Regions from separate parts of the Homo sapiens genome. Here all the other regions are linked to region 3. The links are contacts of gene promoters, found by promoter capture Hi-C in blood cells and fetal thymus (Javierre and others, 2016). All regions are on one chromosome and are shown on one strand. The core of a region is centred on a gene start or on the middle of the fragment in contact, and the rest is flanking DNA. Distances in the headings are between cores, read along the strand shown. Region 1 has its middle 28 kb from the start of PABPC4. Region 2 has its middle 28 kb from the start of MFSD2A. Region 3 holds the start of BMP8B (bone morphogenetic protein 8b). Region 4 overlaps LOC105378669 (a long non-coding RNA gene).

Region 1 (3,672 bases), core at 786-3,285, 180 kb after region 3:
AAGTGCTGGGATTACAGGCAAAAATCTACCTTTTAATCCACCATACGTTAGCTTCTTTAAAGCCCTTTTGTCACACTGGATCCGGTTTTATAAGCCATTACTGCCCTCTAGTGGTCAGTTGGAATAACGGCATAACTGCTATGATAAATACAAACTCCCCAAATGGTGTCGCCCAAAGGCTAGTAGTTTCTACAGATAAAACAGCCCATCGTTTTTTAGTCTCCTGGATGCTGTTAGTCTTCAAGGACTAAGATCAGGGTTTCTCCAAAGGAGCCAGGGAGGATCATCCCATGTAGGCCCTTGTAGGAGAGAATGGCTCCAGGGGAATTACCCTGATGAAAAATACGTCACCCACACTTCCACACCCAAACAAATGAGCAAAGGATAACAGGCTTGTTGGGACTCACAGCTCAGTTGTCCAGACCTTCAAAGAATATATTCTCACTATGTGATTCATTTTATGTGTCAACTTGACTGAGTCATGGACTGCTCGGTTTATTTGGTCAAACATTGTGAGTGTATCTGTGAGGCTGTTTTTGGATGGGATTAACACTTGACTGAATAAAGCAAACTGCATGCCCCCATGTGGGTGGCCCTCATCCAGTCAGACCTGAATAGAACAAAAAGGCCACCCCTCCCTCAAGTAAGAGGCAATGTCTCCTGCCTGACCGTATGAGCTGGGACATGGGTCTTTTCCATTCTATAGATTTGAACTGAAACATTGGCTTTTCTTGGATCTCAAGCCAGTAGACTTTCAGACTGGAACACACATTGGCTCTCCTGGGTCTCCAGCTTGCTAACTGCAGATCTTGGGACTTCTCAACCTTCATAATCACATAAGCCAGTTTCTCATAATAAATAAATGGGTCCTGGCCGGGTGCAGTGGCTCACGCTTGTAATCCCAGCACTTTGGGAGGCCAAGGTGGGCGGATGACAAGGTCACGAGTTCAAGACCAGCCTGGGCAATATGATGAAACCCAGTCTCTACTAAAAATACAAAAATTAGCTGGGCCTGGTGGCAGGCGCCTGTAGTCCCAGCTACTCGGGAGGCTGAGGCAAGAGAATCGCTTGAACCCGGGAGGTGGAGATTGCAGTGAGCCAAGATTGTGCCACTGAACTCCAGCCTGGGCGACAGAGCGAGACTCCATCTCAAAAAAAAAATAAATAAATAAAAATAAGTCCTGTTGGTTCTGTTTCTCTGGAGAGCCCTAATACATTTTTTTTTTTTTCGAGACAGGCTCTTGCTCTGTCACCCAGGCTGGAGTCCAGTGGCGCTATCTCGGCTCACTGCAACCTCCGCCTCCCGGGATCAAGAGAATCTCGTGCCTCAGCTTCCAAAGTAGCTGGGACTAAAAGCATGTGCCATCACACCCAACTAATTTTTGTATTTTTGGTATTGATGGGGTTTCACCACGTTGGCCAGGCTGGTCTCAAATTCCTGACCTCAAATGATCTGCCCGCCTCGGCCTCCCAAAATGCTGGGATTACAGGCGTAAGCCACCACGCCGAGCCCTGACTAATACATTCTGTTTTATACAAACTGTTTTTACTGGGTGGAAAAGAAGGGAAAACTGCCTAACTTGTTTTGTAATACTAGTATGCCCTTGTCATCAGCCCACGACAGGGCAATTAAAGGTAAGAACATTTTAGAACAAGCTTAGTTACGGTTATAGATACAAACATCCTAAATAATAAAACAGAATCCATATGACATCTAAATTAGAAGCAAATATGTAGTAGAGTTTAGCCAAAAATGCAAGGATAGGTTAACAACAGGGAAAGAATTCCTGTTCTGAACCTTAATACATTAAAAGATAAAAAGTATATAATCACTTAAATAAATAATCATTTGATGAATTCATTCATTTTTCAAATCTTAGCAAATTAGGATTAGTAGGATAATACCTTAACCCTATAAAGGATATTTGCCAAATTCCTAAACATCAAATTCAACGGTGAAACTCTAGCATTCCCATAAAAGTTAAAAATATGAATGCCCTTTATTCAAAATTTGATGGGCATTTCTAGCTAATGTAATAAATATAATAGAAATCAGAGGCTTAGGAAGTAGGAAGAGGTAACACCATTCTTATATGCATGATTCATTTTCTATTTGGAAAATAAAAATCTACATGCAGAGCATTAGAATTGATAAGAGTATTTGACAGGTTAGTTGAATACAAGATCATCCCACACATTCTGACAGCACTCTTGTTAATTGCTTATTGGAGTAACAACAAATAAGAACATATTGTGTCCAGAGTCGGTTCCTTCTGGTGGGTTCTTGGTCTCACTGACTTCAAGAATGAAGCTGTGGACCTTCCCGGTGAGTGTTACAGCTCTTAAAGATGGCACGGGCCCAAAGAGTAAGCACCAGCGAGTTTTATTATGAAAAGTGAAAGAACAAAGCTTCCACAGCTTGGAAGGGGACCCAAGCCGGTTGTGGTGGCTGGCTGGGGTGGGGGGGGGTGGCCAGCTTTTATTCCCTTATTTGTCCCCACCCATGTCCTGCTGATGGGTTCATTTTACAGAGCACTGATTGGTCCATTTTACAGTGTGCTGATTGGCGCATTTTACAAACCTCTAGCTAGCCACAGAGCGCTGATTGGTGCATTTTTCAATCCTAGCTACAGAGTGCCAGTTGGTGCATTTTACAATTTTCTTGTAAGACAGAAAAGTTCTCCAAGTCCCCACCCAACCCAGAAGTCCAGGTGGCTTCACCTCTCAATGTGGCTGGGCTTGGAGGCTCACACCTGTAATCCCAACACTTTGGGAGGCTGAGGTGGGTGGATCACCGAGGTCAGGAGTTTGAGACCACCCTGGCCAACATAGAGAAACCCTGTCTCTGCTAAAAATACAAAAATTAGCCAGGTGTGGTGGTGCTTGCCTGTAATCCCAGCTACTCAGGAGGCTGAGGCAGGAGAATCGCCTGAACCCGGGCAGCGGAGGTTGCAGTGAGCCGAGATGGCTCCCCTGCACTCCAGCCTGGGGGACAGAGCAAGACTCCATCTCAAAAAAAAAAAAGCAAAAAAAAGCTGGGTGGGGTGGCTCACGCCTGTAATCCCAGCACTTTGGGAGGCCGAGGTGGGTGGATCACGAGGTCAAGAGATCAAGACCATCTTGGCCAACATGGTGAAACCCCGTTTCTACTAAAAATACAAAAATTAGGTGAGCGTTGTGGCACACACCTGTAGTCCCACCTACTCGGGAGGCTGAGGCAGCAGAATCACTTGTACCTGGAAGGCAGAGGTTGCAGTGAGCCGAGATCACACCACTGCACTCCAGCCTGGCGACAGAGTGAGAATCTGTCTCAAAAAAAAAAAAAAAGAAAGAATGTATTATTTATAATGCATTTCCAATAGCAACAAAAATTATAAGGCACCTAGGAATATACATGTAACATATTGATCTGCATTGATCAATATACAAAATATACATATAACAAAAGATGGCTAGATGTTTTCTCAGAAAACTATGAAACATTTTTAAATGTAAAGGAATACAAAACTAAACATACTCTTACCATACAACACAGCAGTCATGCTTTTTAATATTTAACCAAATGAGTTAAAAACATATCCGCCCAGAAAACCTGTGCATGGATGATTATAGCAGTTTTATTCATAATTGTCAAAACTTAGAAGCAACTAAGATGTCCTTTAGTAGGTAAAT
Region 2 (4,107 bases), core at 421-2,920, 190 kb before region 3:
AGTTCAAGCAGTCCTCTTGCCTTGGCCTCCCAAAGTGCTGGAATTACAGTCATCAGCCACTGCGCCCATCGGCCTAGGAAGTTTTAAAATAATCAAAATACTAGCTTGAACTTTAAGATCAATGCAAATGTTTTCAAAATTAAAAATGTAGAGGTTTCATATAATTAATATGTGAATTTAGCAAGACTACTGGATATGAGATCAACATACAAATGTATTTCTTTATAATAGCAACAAAAAAATTAGAAAATGAAATTTACAAAAAATATCATTTACATCAGTATCAAAAATATCAAATACTTAGGAATAAATCTATTGAAAGATGTTTGAGATTTTAACCTGTGGCCAGGAGTGGTGGCTCATGCCTATAATCCCAGCACTTTGGGAGTCTGAGGTGGGAGAATTGCTTGAGCCCAGGAGTTGGAGACCAGCCTGGGCAACATAGCAAGACCCCACCTCTACAAAAAATGTAAAAAGAATCATAATAAATGTTCAAAGAAAAAAAAAAAGACCTCAACCTGAAACATTCTCTCTCTCTCTTTTTTTTTTTTTTTTGAGACAGAGTCTCATTCTGTTTTCAGGCTGGAGTGCAGTGGCGCGATCTCAGCTCACTGCAACCTCCGCCCTCCGAGTTCAAGCGATTCTCCTGCCTCAGCCTCCCGAGTAGCTGGGATTACAGGCGCCTGCCACTGCACCCGGCTAATTTTTTGTATTTTTAGTAGATATGGGGTTTCACCTTCTTGGCCAGGCTGGTCTCGAACTCCTGACCTTGTGATCCACCCGCCTTGGCCTCCCAAAGTGCTGGGATTACAGGTGTGAGCCACCGCGTCCGGCCCTCTCTCTTTTTTAAGAGACAGTGTCTCACTATTTTGGCCAGGCTGGTCTCAAACTCCCTGGCTCAGGTGATCTTCCTGCCTCAGCCTCCCAAGTAGCTGGGACTACGGGCATGCACCACCATGCCTGTTTCTATAAGACATTCTTGACATAAATTAAACACGACCTAAATAAATGGACAGATATTTCATGTTCATAAATTAGAAGACTCAATATTGTTAAGATGCCAGTTTTTTCCAATTAGTTCATAGATTCAGTGTAATTCCATCAAACTCCCAGCACATTCTGTGTGTGTATGTGTGTGTGTGTGTGTGTGCACACGCATACATTGACAAGCTGATTCCAAAATACATATGGACAATCCAAAAACCTTGAAGTTTGGCCAGGCATGGTGACTCATACCTGTAATCCCAGCACTTTGGGAGGCCAAGGCAGGCAGATCACCTGAGGTCAGGAGTTCAAGACCAACCTAGCCAATATGCTGAAACCCCCTATCTACTTAAAGTACAAAAAAATTAGCTGGGCATGATGGCGGGCATCTGTAGTCCCAACTACTTGGGAGGCTGAGGCAGGAGAATCGCTTGAACTTGGGAGGTGGAGGTTGCAATAAGCCAAGATCGCGCCATTGCACTTCAGCCTGGGAGAGAGTGAAACTCCATCTCAAAAACAAAACAAAACAAAACCTTGAAGTTGAAAGACTTACACTACCAAATTTCAACATTTACTATATAAATCTATAGTAATTAAGACAGGGGACTCTTGGAGTAAGAATAGCTGAGTAGATCACTTGAACAGGATAAAGAGTCCAGGGCCAGCCACGGTGGCTCATGCCTGTAATCCCAGCACTTTGGGACGCCGAGGCAGGTGGATCACCTGAAGTCAGGAGTTTGAGACCAGCCTGACCAATATGGTGAAACTCCGCCTCTACTAAAAATACAAAAATTAGCCGGGTGTGGTGGCGTGTGCCTGTAATCCCGGCTACTGGGGAGGCTGAGGCAGGAGAATTGCTTGAACCCGGGAGATGGAGGTTGCATTGAGCCGAGATCGCACCATTGCACTACAGCTTAGGCGACAGAGCAAGACTCTGTCTCAAAAAAAAAAAAAAAAAAAAAATAGAGTCCAAAAATGGACCTACACATATAGGTTCTTTTGATTTATGCCACTGTAATCAAGTAGGGGAGGGACGTCCTTTTAATAAAAGGTGCTGGAATAATTGGATAAGTACAGAGAAAAATAAACTCTGACCCTTAACTCACACTATACACAAAAATTAATTTGAGTGGATCATAGACCTAAATAAAAAAAGTATAAAACAACAATAAAACAACTTCTAAATAAAAACATAAGATAATTTTTTTGATATTGGGGTAAGTAAAGATTTCTTTTTTTTTTTTTTTTTTTGAGACGGAGTCTCACTCTGTTGTCAGGCTGGAGTACAGTGGTGCGATCTCCGCTCACTGCAACCTCCGCCTCCCAGGTTCAAACAATTCTCCTGCCTCAGCCTCCCGAGTTGCTGGGATTACAGGCATGCACCACCATACCCGGCTAATTTTTGTATTTTTAGTAGAGACGGGGTTTTACCATGTTAGCCAGGCTGGTCTCGAACTCCTGACCTCAGGTGATCCAGCCGCCTTGGCCTCCCCAAAGTGCTGGGATTACAGACGTGAGCCACCGCGCCCAGCCTCCTGAATGTAAATTATATCTCAATAAAACATTGAAAAGTAAGGAGTTTTTTGTTTATTTTTAATTACAAAAGCAAAATAAATGCTTGGTCTTTATAGACTACTAAAACAAGTATAACTAGAAGAATGACAGGCCTTGATCTCATTTCTAGGGACAAGATCTGTCTTCAAATTTATGCAGGTCTTCCATGGGACAAAGAGAAGGGTTGTATTGTGCAGATGCCAAAGAGAGGATCTAGAATCTGTGGGGACAAGCCACAAGGAGATAGCTTTCAAGATGAAGGAAACCTTTTTTTATGCCCTTCTCCACAAATGAAACAGGCTGCCTTGAGCCAAAATGAGCTGGCTGCCAAAGGCATGAGCAAGCAGAAGGCAGCCACAGGCATCCACGCATCAGGTGGGGTTGGATTAGACAGCCTAGGTCTCGTCCTCTGCCTCTGCTACTCCTTTAAGGAACAGCAAGGAGTAGAACAGCCCCTCCCACACTATGAGTTGTCCCTTTGTGTTAACAGAAATGGCCAAACCCATCTGCTGAAAGCCATAGATTGCTGGAGGACTAGCTCTGGAGTCTGAGCCCTGATGGCAGTGAAAAGGGAGGGAAGGACACAGGACAAAAGTCTTGGTTCTTAAGAAACGGACAGGCCAGGAGGTGGTTCACATCTGTAATCTCAGTACTTTGGGAGGCCAAGGAGGGAGGGTCACTTGAGCTCAGCAGTTAAGACCAACTTGGACAACATAGGGAGACCCTGTCTCTACAAAAAATAAAATAATTAGCTGGGCAAGGTGGCACGCCTCTAGTCCCAGCTACTCAGGATGCTGAGGCAGGAGGATTTGTTGAGCACAGGATTTCGAGGTTGCAGTGAGCCATGGTCACACTACTGTACTCCAGCTTAGGGGACAGAGTGAGACCTTGAAAAAAAAAAAGAGAGAAAGAAAAGAAAAAGGAAGAAAGGAAGAAGAAAGGGAGAAAGGGAGAAAGAACGAGAGAAAGGAAATAAAGAAAGAAAGAAAAGAAGGAACTGATAAATTTGGTGGGAAAAAATGGCCAGGCGCGGTGCCTCACACCTATAATCCCAGCACTTTGGGAGGCCGAGACAGGCAGATCACCTGAGGTCAGGAGTTCAAAACCAGTCTGACCAACAATGACGAAACCCCGTCTCTACGAAAAATACAAAAATTAGCCGGGCGTGATGGCGCACATCCCAGCTACTTGGGAGGCTGAGGCAGGAGAATTGCTTGAACCCAGGAGGCGGAGGTTGCAGTGAGCCGAGATCGTACCATTGCACTCCAGCCTGGGCAACAGAGTGAGACTCTGTCTCAAAAAAAAAAAAAAATTGGTTGGAAAACAAAAATAACTCTGAGCTAGGAGTGAGACAGATTCTCTCCTTCTGCCTGTGGCTGGCTGTGTGACCTTGTGCAACTTCCTTGTCCTCTCTGAGCCTGGAGTCTAGGCTGGGTAGTTCTTGGGCCTTCTCTGGTACTGACATCCTTTGAGGCCACACGGATGGCCACCTGGGCCAGATGGGAGTCACTGAAGGGGAAGGTACTGGGAGAGTGACTGCGGTGACTGTAGTGGCAGACAGGAGAAAGA
Region 3 (4,049 bases), core at 1,231-3,730:
GTAGTAACCCTCCACATGCAAGTTACAACAGCAGAGAGGTTTTCATCTATCAAACCAGCAGAGATTGATTTATTTATGTATTTAACAGTTATATCTAGTGTTGGTAAGGGTGATAGAAAATAAGCACCCTCGTGCTATTGGGGCAACAGATAATATGTATCAAAAACCATAAAAAGTGTATATGCTCTTTGATTCAAATATTCCATCTCTAGACGCCTGTAATCCCAGCACTTTGGGAAGCTGGGGTGGGCAGATCACCTGAGCCCAGGAGTTCAAGACTAGCCTGTCCAACATGGCAAAACCCTGTGTATACTAAAAATACAAAAATTAGCCAGGCATGGTGGTGCACGCCTGTAATCCCAGCTGCTCAGGGGGCTGAGGCACAAAGACCACTTGAGGCGGAGGCTGCAGTGAGCCAAGATCATACCATTGCACTCCAGCCTGGGTGACAGAGCAAGACTCCATCTCAAAAAAAAAAAAAAAAAATCCATCTCTAGAAATTCATCCTAAAGAAATCACCATGGATGTGCACAGATTATTCTACAAGATTGTTCATAACAACATAGTATATAATATAAAAATATAATTATCCCATAACATAAGCTTGATTAAAAAAATTATGATAACAATATGATGAAAAAATACCACGAAGCCAGTAAAAAAAGTGTGCAATAATTAATGGCATAGTGAAATACTGCAATATAACGTGAAGCTAATAAAGCAAATAAGATCCTGTTTTTTGTATGAAAAAATACACATACATGTAAGAAAAAGAGACATCAAATATTACCAGTGATTATCTCTGGAAACAGGGATTTGGGTGATTTTAAAATTTGTTGGGGGTAATATTTTTACTTTTCTGTACTGACCTGGCATAAGTTCCTTAATCGCTGTGTGCCTCAGTTTCCTCATTTGTTAAAAGAGGAGGTTCCAATGGTATGTACCCCCTGATGATGTGCAAAAGTGATTATGAAACTATTTTCAAAAGTTTCTACAAAAGCAAGTTACCTCTGTAATCAGGAAAAAGTAGTTCTTTTAGTGCTCTGAATAGTGTAATAATAATATTTATTTTATTTCATTTTATTATTTACCCTTGCAGAAATTTACTTCTTCGGTAAAAGACAGACTAGGCATGTGCTTAAGGAGCCAGCAAATGACCATTTACATTAATAATTTATTTAATATAGAAATTTTTATTGAAGTGATGACTTCTAAATGTGATTTTTGGGGGCATTATACACTTGCTTCGAGGTTTAATCTTCAATCCACATGGGGGGGCACCATAATCACTGGTGCCCAGGGCCCTCGTCTAGCCCCTGTGAGGCCCTTTGCAGTCCCTCCCTTGCCAGCCCCTCCAGCCTCCGCCATTTGCCCCGTGGGCTCTCCAGGTTCCACTTGAGGAGCTGCCCCCTGCCCCAGCCCAGCTCTACTGCTGTGTGACCTAGCGTAAGTCCCTTAACCGCTGTGTGCCTCAGTTTCCTCATTTGTTAAAAGAGGAGGTTCCAGTGGTAGGTACCCCCTGACGATGTGCAAGCATCACAGAAATGACACAAGACACACACTGAGAACATGCCTCGCGCGTGGCAAGTGCTGACTGTTACCTGCCATTATTAGGCTCCCCCGCCGGGGTCTCAGGGCCTTGGCACAAGCTCTTCCCTCTGCTTGGAGCACTTTCCTCCACTGACCTTTCCTGGCGCTCCAGGTCAACTCCAGGAGCCTTCCCAGTACAGTCTAGGTGCCTTCTCCTTCCGCAGCGCCTGAACCACACAGGAATAAGTAAGGCGAGAGCGCGCCCAGAGAAGAGCAGAGAGTGCAGAAAGGGGCTGAGTTAGTAGAGGCATTTCCGCGGGGATCCTTCTCCTGCCAGGCCTGCACCGGGGCCGTGGCGACTGAGAAGTGCACAGGTGGCTCCCGGGTGCTCCAGAAGGGCCCCAGAGCTCCTGGCCCGGCTAAAGGCAGGAGGCGGGTGCGCGTCTCCCCCGCGAAGCTGGATCAGTACTGGGGGCGCAGGGGGCGCACGCCGCGCAGCGAGGGCTGGCGGGGGCGGCCTGCCTGGGGCGCTGCCCAGGCTCACGCGGGAGCCAGGTGGGGGCGCGGGGAGGAGCAGCTGAGCAGGTGCCGGGAAGGAGGCGCCTGCAGCATGCCATGGCGACCCGCGCACGCGACGGCGGGGCGGCCGGGTGGCACCACTGGCGGGACCGGAAGGGCGCCGCGGCCCTAGGATCTCTGCGCCGAGGCCCGCGGCGGAAGCCACGACGGCCATGACCACGCTGACGCCCAGGCTGCGAGCCCCTCGCCCGGGCCGCCTGCCCACCCGCCACGCCCAGGTAGCACCTCGGGGTCTCCCCACCCGCGACACCGGCCGCAGCCCCGGGCCCCCTCGCAGGCGTGGCCCCCGCTCCCAGGCCCCGCCCCCGCCCCCCCATTGGTCAGTCCCGGGGTGGGGGCGGGCGACGCGGACCGCTGGGCAGGGCAGGGCAGGGACTCGCGGGAACCGCACCAAGCGGGTGGCTGCAGGAGCTCGCCCATCGCCCCTGCGCTGCTCGGACCGCGGCCACAGCCGGACTGGCGGGTACGGCGGCGACAGACGGATTGGCCGAGAGTCCCAGTCCGCAGAGTAGCCCCGGCCTCGAGGCGGTGGCGTCCGCGTCCTCTCGTCCAGGAGCCAGGACAGGTGTCGCGCGGCGGGCGCTCCAGGGACCGCGCTGAGGCCGCGGTCGCCGCCCGTCCCGCCCCGCCCCGCCGCCCGCCGCCCGCCGAGCCCAGCCTCCTTGCCGTCGGGGCGTCCCCAGGCCCTGGGTCGGCCGCGGAGCCGATGCGCGCCCGCTGAGCGCCCCAGCTGAGCGCCCCCGGCCTGCCATGACCGCGCTCCCCGGCCCGCTCTGGCTCCTGGGCCTGGCGCTATGCGCGCTGGGCGGGGGCGGCCCCGGCCTGCGACCCCCGCCCGGCTGTCCCCAGCGACGTCTGGGCGCGCGCGAGCGCCGGGACGTGCAGCGCGAGATCCTGGCGGTGCTCGGGCTGCCTGGGCGGCCCCGGCCCCGCGCGCCACCCGCCGCCTCCCGGCTGCCCGCGTCCGCGCCGCTCTTCATGCTGGACCTGTACCACGCCATGGCCGGCGACGACGACGAGGACGGCGCGCCCGCGGAGCGGCGCCTGGGCCGCGCCGACCTGGTCATGAGCTTCGTTAACATGGGTGAGTGCGGCCGCCCGCGCGGGGACCCTCGGAGTAAGCTGGCTGCAGGGGAGGGGCGCGCATCCGCGGGCTGTGCCGGGCCCTGGCCGAACGGGGAGTCACAGACGGTGGACGCGAACCACAGGGGAGTGGGACCGCCGTGGTTAGGGAAGGTCTAAGGGTCATGGGGGCCCCCTGGGCTGCGGGGTGGTCAGGAGCAGAGTGTGGGGGACTGTGGACTCCCAGGCGCTGCCTTCACCCTGCCCCAAACACACCCAGGAGTAAGAATCAGGTGATGTCTTTGCCCACCTGGGCTGCCCCGGGAAGACAGCCTGGTCCTGGGGAGACAGGTGAGTAAACAGAGGCCGGGATGCTGTCACTGTGATAAGGGCAGTACTGAGGAGAGGGACAAAGTTCAGCGTGGAAACCTGTGGTCACATCGGAGTGACCAGAGCTGAGTCGCGTGCCCTGAGTCCACAGCAGGCTCTTCTCTGTGCGGAGCCTGGGTGGGGTGCGGCTGTCAGGGGGGCGGCTGGGGAAGGAGCAAACTCAGCTCGCTGGGGCAGGGACTGTTGCCTTGTCACCCTGGGCCCAACACCTGGGATGTGATCTGGTATGGGGTGAGTGTCCAGTCCTGTGGAATGGTCCAGTGGGCAGCTGGACCCACTTTGTTCTCCCAGGCAAAGCCCGGCTTTTCCTGTCTGCAAATATCTTGTATCAAACCCTGGAGCTATTTATTCCCTAAGATCTCAGAGATTTTTTTTCCAGTACTAAACTCTTTGGTCTATGGTCATGTAGTTACTATTGGTCAGGTCACCCATCTGCTTTGCCTCCTGTCTGTGGCTAGTGACAGTCTGGGGTCTGGGGAACCAAGGAC
Region 4 (4,178 bases), core at 1,056-3,555, 230 kb before region 3:
TGTACCTTACCATTGACTGCTAAAAGACACCAGTCGGCACTTTGAACATTCCACCTAGAAATCTCCTTAGCCAAATTCACCAGTACATTAAGTATACTTTCTATTTTATGTTTTACCACAGGTGACATTCTTCAAAACATTTTGCTACTACATAAAAATAGTTGCTTTTTCTCCAGCCTCCAATAACAATTTCCTCCAATAACAGTTTCCTTCAAATCTTCACTAACAGTCTCCTAAGGCCCTTCAGCTTCCAACAACTACCTGGTCCTAGGTCACTGTCCCATGTTTTAGGTTTTTGTCACAGCAGCATAACACTACTTGTATCAATTTCTATTCCAGTTACCTATTATTACCTTGGTGCAAAAGTAATTGTGGGTTTTGTCATTAGTTTATTATTATTATTATTATTTTTGAGACAGAGTCTCGTTCTTTGGCCCAGGTTGGAGTGCAGTGGTGTAATCTCGGCCCACTGCAACCTCCACCTCCAGGGTTCAAGCAATTCTCCTGCCTCAGCCTCCCAAGTAACTGGAATTACACATGCCCCCCAACCATGCCCAGCTAATTTTTATATTTTTAGTAGAGACAGGGTTTCACCATGTTGGCCAGGCTGGTCTTGAACTCCTGACCTCAGGTGATCCACCCGTCTTGGCCTCCCAAAATGCTGGGATTACAGGTGTGAGCCACAGCATCGGCAGGTTTTTGTCATTACTTTTAACGGCAAAACCCGCAATAACTTTTGCACCAACCTAATACTATTATAATAACAATCTATACCCAACTTCGTGACTTAAAACAATGATTTATTATCTCTCATGCTCAGTGGGTTGACTGAAGTCAGCTGAGCAGTCCTCACTTGGGGTCTCATGTGATTAGCATTTGAAGGTGGCTGGGGCTGGAGCCATCTGAAAGCTTCACTGGGCTGGATATCCAGAATGGCTCATTCACATAACTCGAAGTTGATGCTGGTTCTCTGCTGGGAGCTTAGTTAGGACTGTCAATCAGAGTGCCAACAGGCAGCCTGTCCATGTGGCTTAGGATTCTCACATTCTAGTGTGTGGGTTTCTGAGGAGTGTCTCAAGAGCAAACATTTCAAGAGATCCAGCTGGAAGTTACAATGTTTCTTGTTATCTAAACTTGGACGTTTCAGAATGACTCTTCCTCTGTATTTTTTTTTTTTTTGAAGCAGGGTCTTTCTCTGCTGCCCAGGCTGAAATGCAGTAGCACGATCATGACTCACTGCAGCCTCCACCTCCTGGGCTCAAGTGGTCTTCCACCTCAGCCTCCCAAGCAGCTGGGACTACAGGGGTGCACTACTATGTGTGGCTAATTAAAAAAAACAAACATTTTTTATAGAGTTGGAGTCTCACTGTGTTGCATAGGCTCTCTGCATTCTATTGATTAAGCAAGTTAGCATTCACTAAGTCCAGCCCGTATGCAAGAAGGGTAACTCCACATCAGAGGGGAGAAATTGGTGATGTTTATAGCTGGTGACAATCTACATCATCAATTTAGAGATTATTTTATCCACTTCACAAAAGTTACCACGTTTATAACTAGGATTGTATTAAATGTATTAATTTCAGTAGACTGGACATATTAAATCTTCCCATCTAAGAATGGGAGACAGGCTGGATGTGATGGCTCATTCCTGTAATCCCAGCACTTTGGGAGGCTGAGGCAGGCGGATCACTTGAGGTCAGGAGTTCAAGACCAGCCTGGCCATCATGGTGAAACCCCATCTCTACTAAAATTACAAAAAAATTAGCTGGGAATGGTGGCAGGTGCCTGTAATCCCAGCTACTCAGGAGGCTGAGGCAGAAGAATCACTTGAACCGGGAGGTGGAGGTTGCAGTGAGCTGAGATTGTGCCACTGCACTCCAGCCTGGGCGACAGAGCCAGACTTCATCTCAAAAAATAAAATAAAATAAAATAAAATAAAATAAAATAAAATAATGGGAGATGTTTTACTACTTGTTTAGATTTTGTTTTATAATTTATGGTTAATCTATGACAGAAACTTCTCTTTTGGAACAAAAATGTAAAAAAAAAATAGTACTGTGTACACTTGGAGCATTTGCTAGAGTTTCTCTATGAGACTGCATTGTATAGGTTTATGATTTCTAATTATGCCCAAGAAAATTCAAAAATTATAGAATAGATCTATTAGAATCATTGTAGAAGTAAATGCCTACATGAATGTGAATTATGGGTGATGGCTAAAGCAGTGGCTTAAAGCCAGAAAAATCCAGCAATTTCTGGATTTTCATTCATTCATAAGTTGATTGAACCAAGAACGTCATCTCTCCCTACTGAATCTGCCTCCCTTCTCCAACCCCACAAAATTAAACAAAAGCCAGATTATTGGTCCTAGATGGGTACTTTGTGAGGGCAAAAATAAGTAGTCTCTATCATGTTAATTATCACTACCATTCAATGAGTAACTACTATGTGCTAGGTAATGGGTAGATATTTTGCACTTATTATCTCATTAAAGATTAAATTAGGCCAGTAGGCCAATAGAACAAAATAGAGATCTCAGACATAGACCCATGTAGAAATATGGGAATTTAATATACAGTTAAAGTATACTACAAATCAATGAGAATATGACTCAGAGTCCAACCAGGAAAATATGTCAGTTAAGGTGCAACCAGGAGACAGAAACCATACAGTAATTTGAACAGGAAGGGCCGGGCGTGGTGGCTCACGCCTGTAATCCCAGCACTTTGGGAGGCTGAGGTGGGCAGATCACAATTTCAGGAGTTTGAGACCAGCCTGGCCAACAGAGTAAAACCCCATCTTTACTAAAAATACAAAAATTAGCTGGGCATGGTGGCAGGCGCCTGTAATCCCAGCTACTCAGGAGGCCAAGGCAGGAGAATTGCTTGAAACTGAAAGGCAGAGGTTGCAGTGAGCTGAGATCACGCCACTGCACTCCAGCCTGGACAAAAGAGTGAAACTCCGTCTCAAAAAAAAAAAAAAGTTTGAACAGGAAAGTTTAATACAAAGAACTTTTTTTTTTTTTTTTTTTTGAGATGGAGTCTTGCTCTGCCACTCAGGCTGGAGTGTAGTGGAGCGATTTTGGCTCACTGCAGCCTCCACCTCCCAGGCTCCAATGATTTTCCTGCCTCAGCCTCCCATATAGTTGGGATTACAGGTATGCGCCACCACCCCCAGCTAATTTTAGTATTTTTAGTAGAGACAAGATTTCACCATGTTGGCCAGGCTGGTCTCAAACTCCTGACCTCAGGTGATCTGCCCACCTCGGCCTCCCAAAGTGCTAGGATTACAGGCGTGAGCTACCACACATGGCTACAAAGGACTATTAACTATAACAAAATAGAATGCCCAAAGAAGAGTCCCCCCTCCCCCACTCTCAGGGCTGTGCTCCAAAACGTGTTGCAGAGGGAGTACCTCTTCACTGGATGGTGGAGAAGTTGCTAAGGTGTCATATCAGTGAAATTTGCTAGAAATCTACCCAAGAGGAAGCCAGGGGGAGTTGGAGGACACTGAGCGATGCTGGCTGCTATGTGCTGTAGGAGGCAGGTCTAGAGAAGCCATGTGGTACTAGCTCAGTGCCACAGAAACTGCAAAATCCTGCAATCCCACATACTGCAAAATCCTGACGAGATGGAAAGATAGAAGAGGAGAAACTCATTTTCCTCTGTGTCCCTTTAGCACGGTCTTACTGACAAAGCTTTGTATCATGCCCCTGGCAAAGGAGAAATATTTAAAGGGTCCATCTTGATTTTTGCTGAGCAGGCAATGAAGGGTAGATTTGGAACTGTAAGGCAATACATTGAAAACTGGCAAAAAGGCTGATTGGATTGTATAATAAGAAAGCGTTTGATAAATAGGATCACTATATGGAGAAAAATAATACCAGATCCCTATCTAACACCACCTATATAAGTGAACTCCAAATGGCTTAAAGACCTAAACATAAAAGGTAAAATTATGAATTTAATAGAAAAAAGTAGGAAGATATTTTTATAACCTAGGGACAGGGAATAAACTTTTTTAAAACTTAAAAAAGTATAACTCAAGGTAAAAAATTAATGAATTTGATTATATAGAAATCAAGATAAAACTGCTGGTTAACTGAAAATCAAAAAAAGGAAATTAAGATTTTTGGTTCATTGAAGGACTATGTGAACAAAGTTAAAAGATAGATGATG

What was found. Contacts are between HindIII fragments. The CHiCAGO score rates a contact against its expected background, and 5 or more counts as called.
Region 1: a fragment that was not itself captured here is called in contact with the fragment with the promoter of BMP8B in region 3 in 1 of 17 cell types (endothelial precursors); the score reaches 7.2 in endothelial precursors.
Region 2: a contact is called between a fragment that was not itself captured here and the fragment with the promoter of BMP8B in region 3, in 2 of 17 cell types (megakaryocytes and endothelial precursors). The highest score is 8.3, in megakaryocytes.
Region 4: a contact is called between a fragment that was not itself captured here and the fragment with the promoter of BMP8B in region 3, in 2 of 17 cell types (endothelial precursors and M0 macrophages). The highest score is 5.6, in endothelial precursors.

What each region holds. Positions count from the first base shown.
Region 1 is chr1:39,602,799-39,606,470 of GRCh38, reverse strand. No RefSeq gene overlaps it. Among named protein-coding and RNA genes, the nearest start is that of PABPC4, 28 kb to the right of the region's middle. The HindIII fragment of the contact is 753 bases long and covers 1,659-2,411 here.
Region 2 is chr1:39,980,974-39,985,080 of GRCh38, reverse strand. No RefSeq gene overlaps it. Among named protein-coding and RNA genes, the nearest start is that of MFSD2A, 28 kb to the right of the region's middle. RefSeq lists an enhancer at 3,855-4,107. The HindIII fragment of the contact is 9,070 bases long and covers 1-4,107 here.
Region 3 is chr1:39,787,296-39,791,344 of GRCh38, reverse strand. BMP8B (bone morphogenetic protein 8b) reads left to right here and starts at 2,480. Exons shown (of 7, transcript NM_001720.5): 1 at 2,480-3,193. The coding sequence starts at 2,860. It overlaps LOC101929536 (a long non-coding RNA gene), which reads right to left and starts at 2,369. Exons shown (of 1, transcript NR_135805.1): 1 at 1,174-2,369. RefSeq lists an enhancer at 1,873-2,374 and a silencer at 1,929-2,528. The HindIII fragment of the contact is 19,151 bases long and covers 606-4,049 here.
Region 4 is chr1:40,017,724-40,021,901 of GRCh38, reverse strand. All of the region lies in intron 2 of LOC105378669 (a long non-coding RNA gene), which reads left to right. Among named protein-coding and RNA genes, the nearest start is that of CAP1, 21 kb to the left of the region's middle. RefSeq lists an enhancer at 1,027-1,256. The HindIII fragment of the contact is 2,788 bases long and covers 912-3,699 here.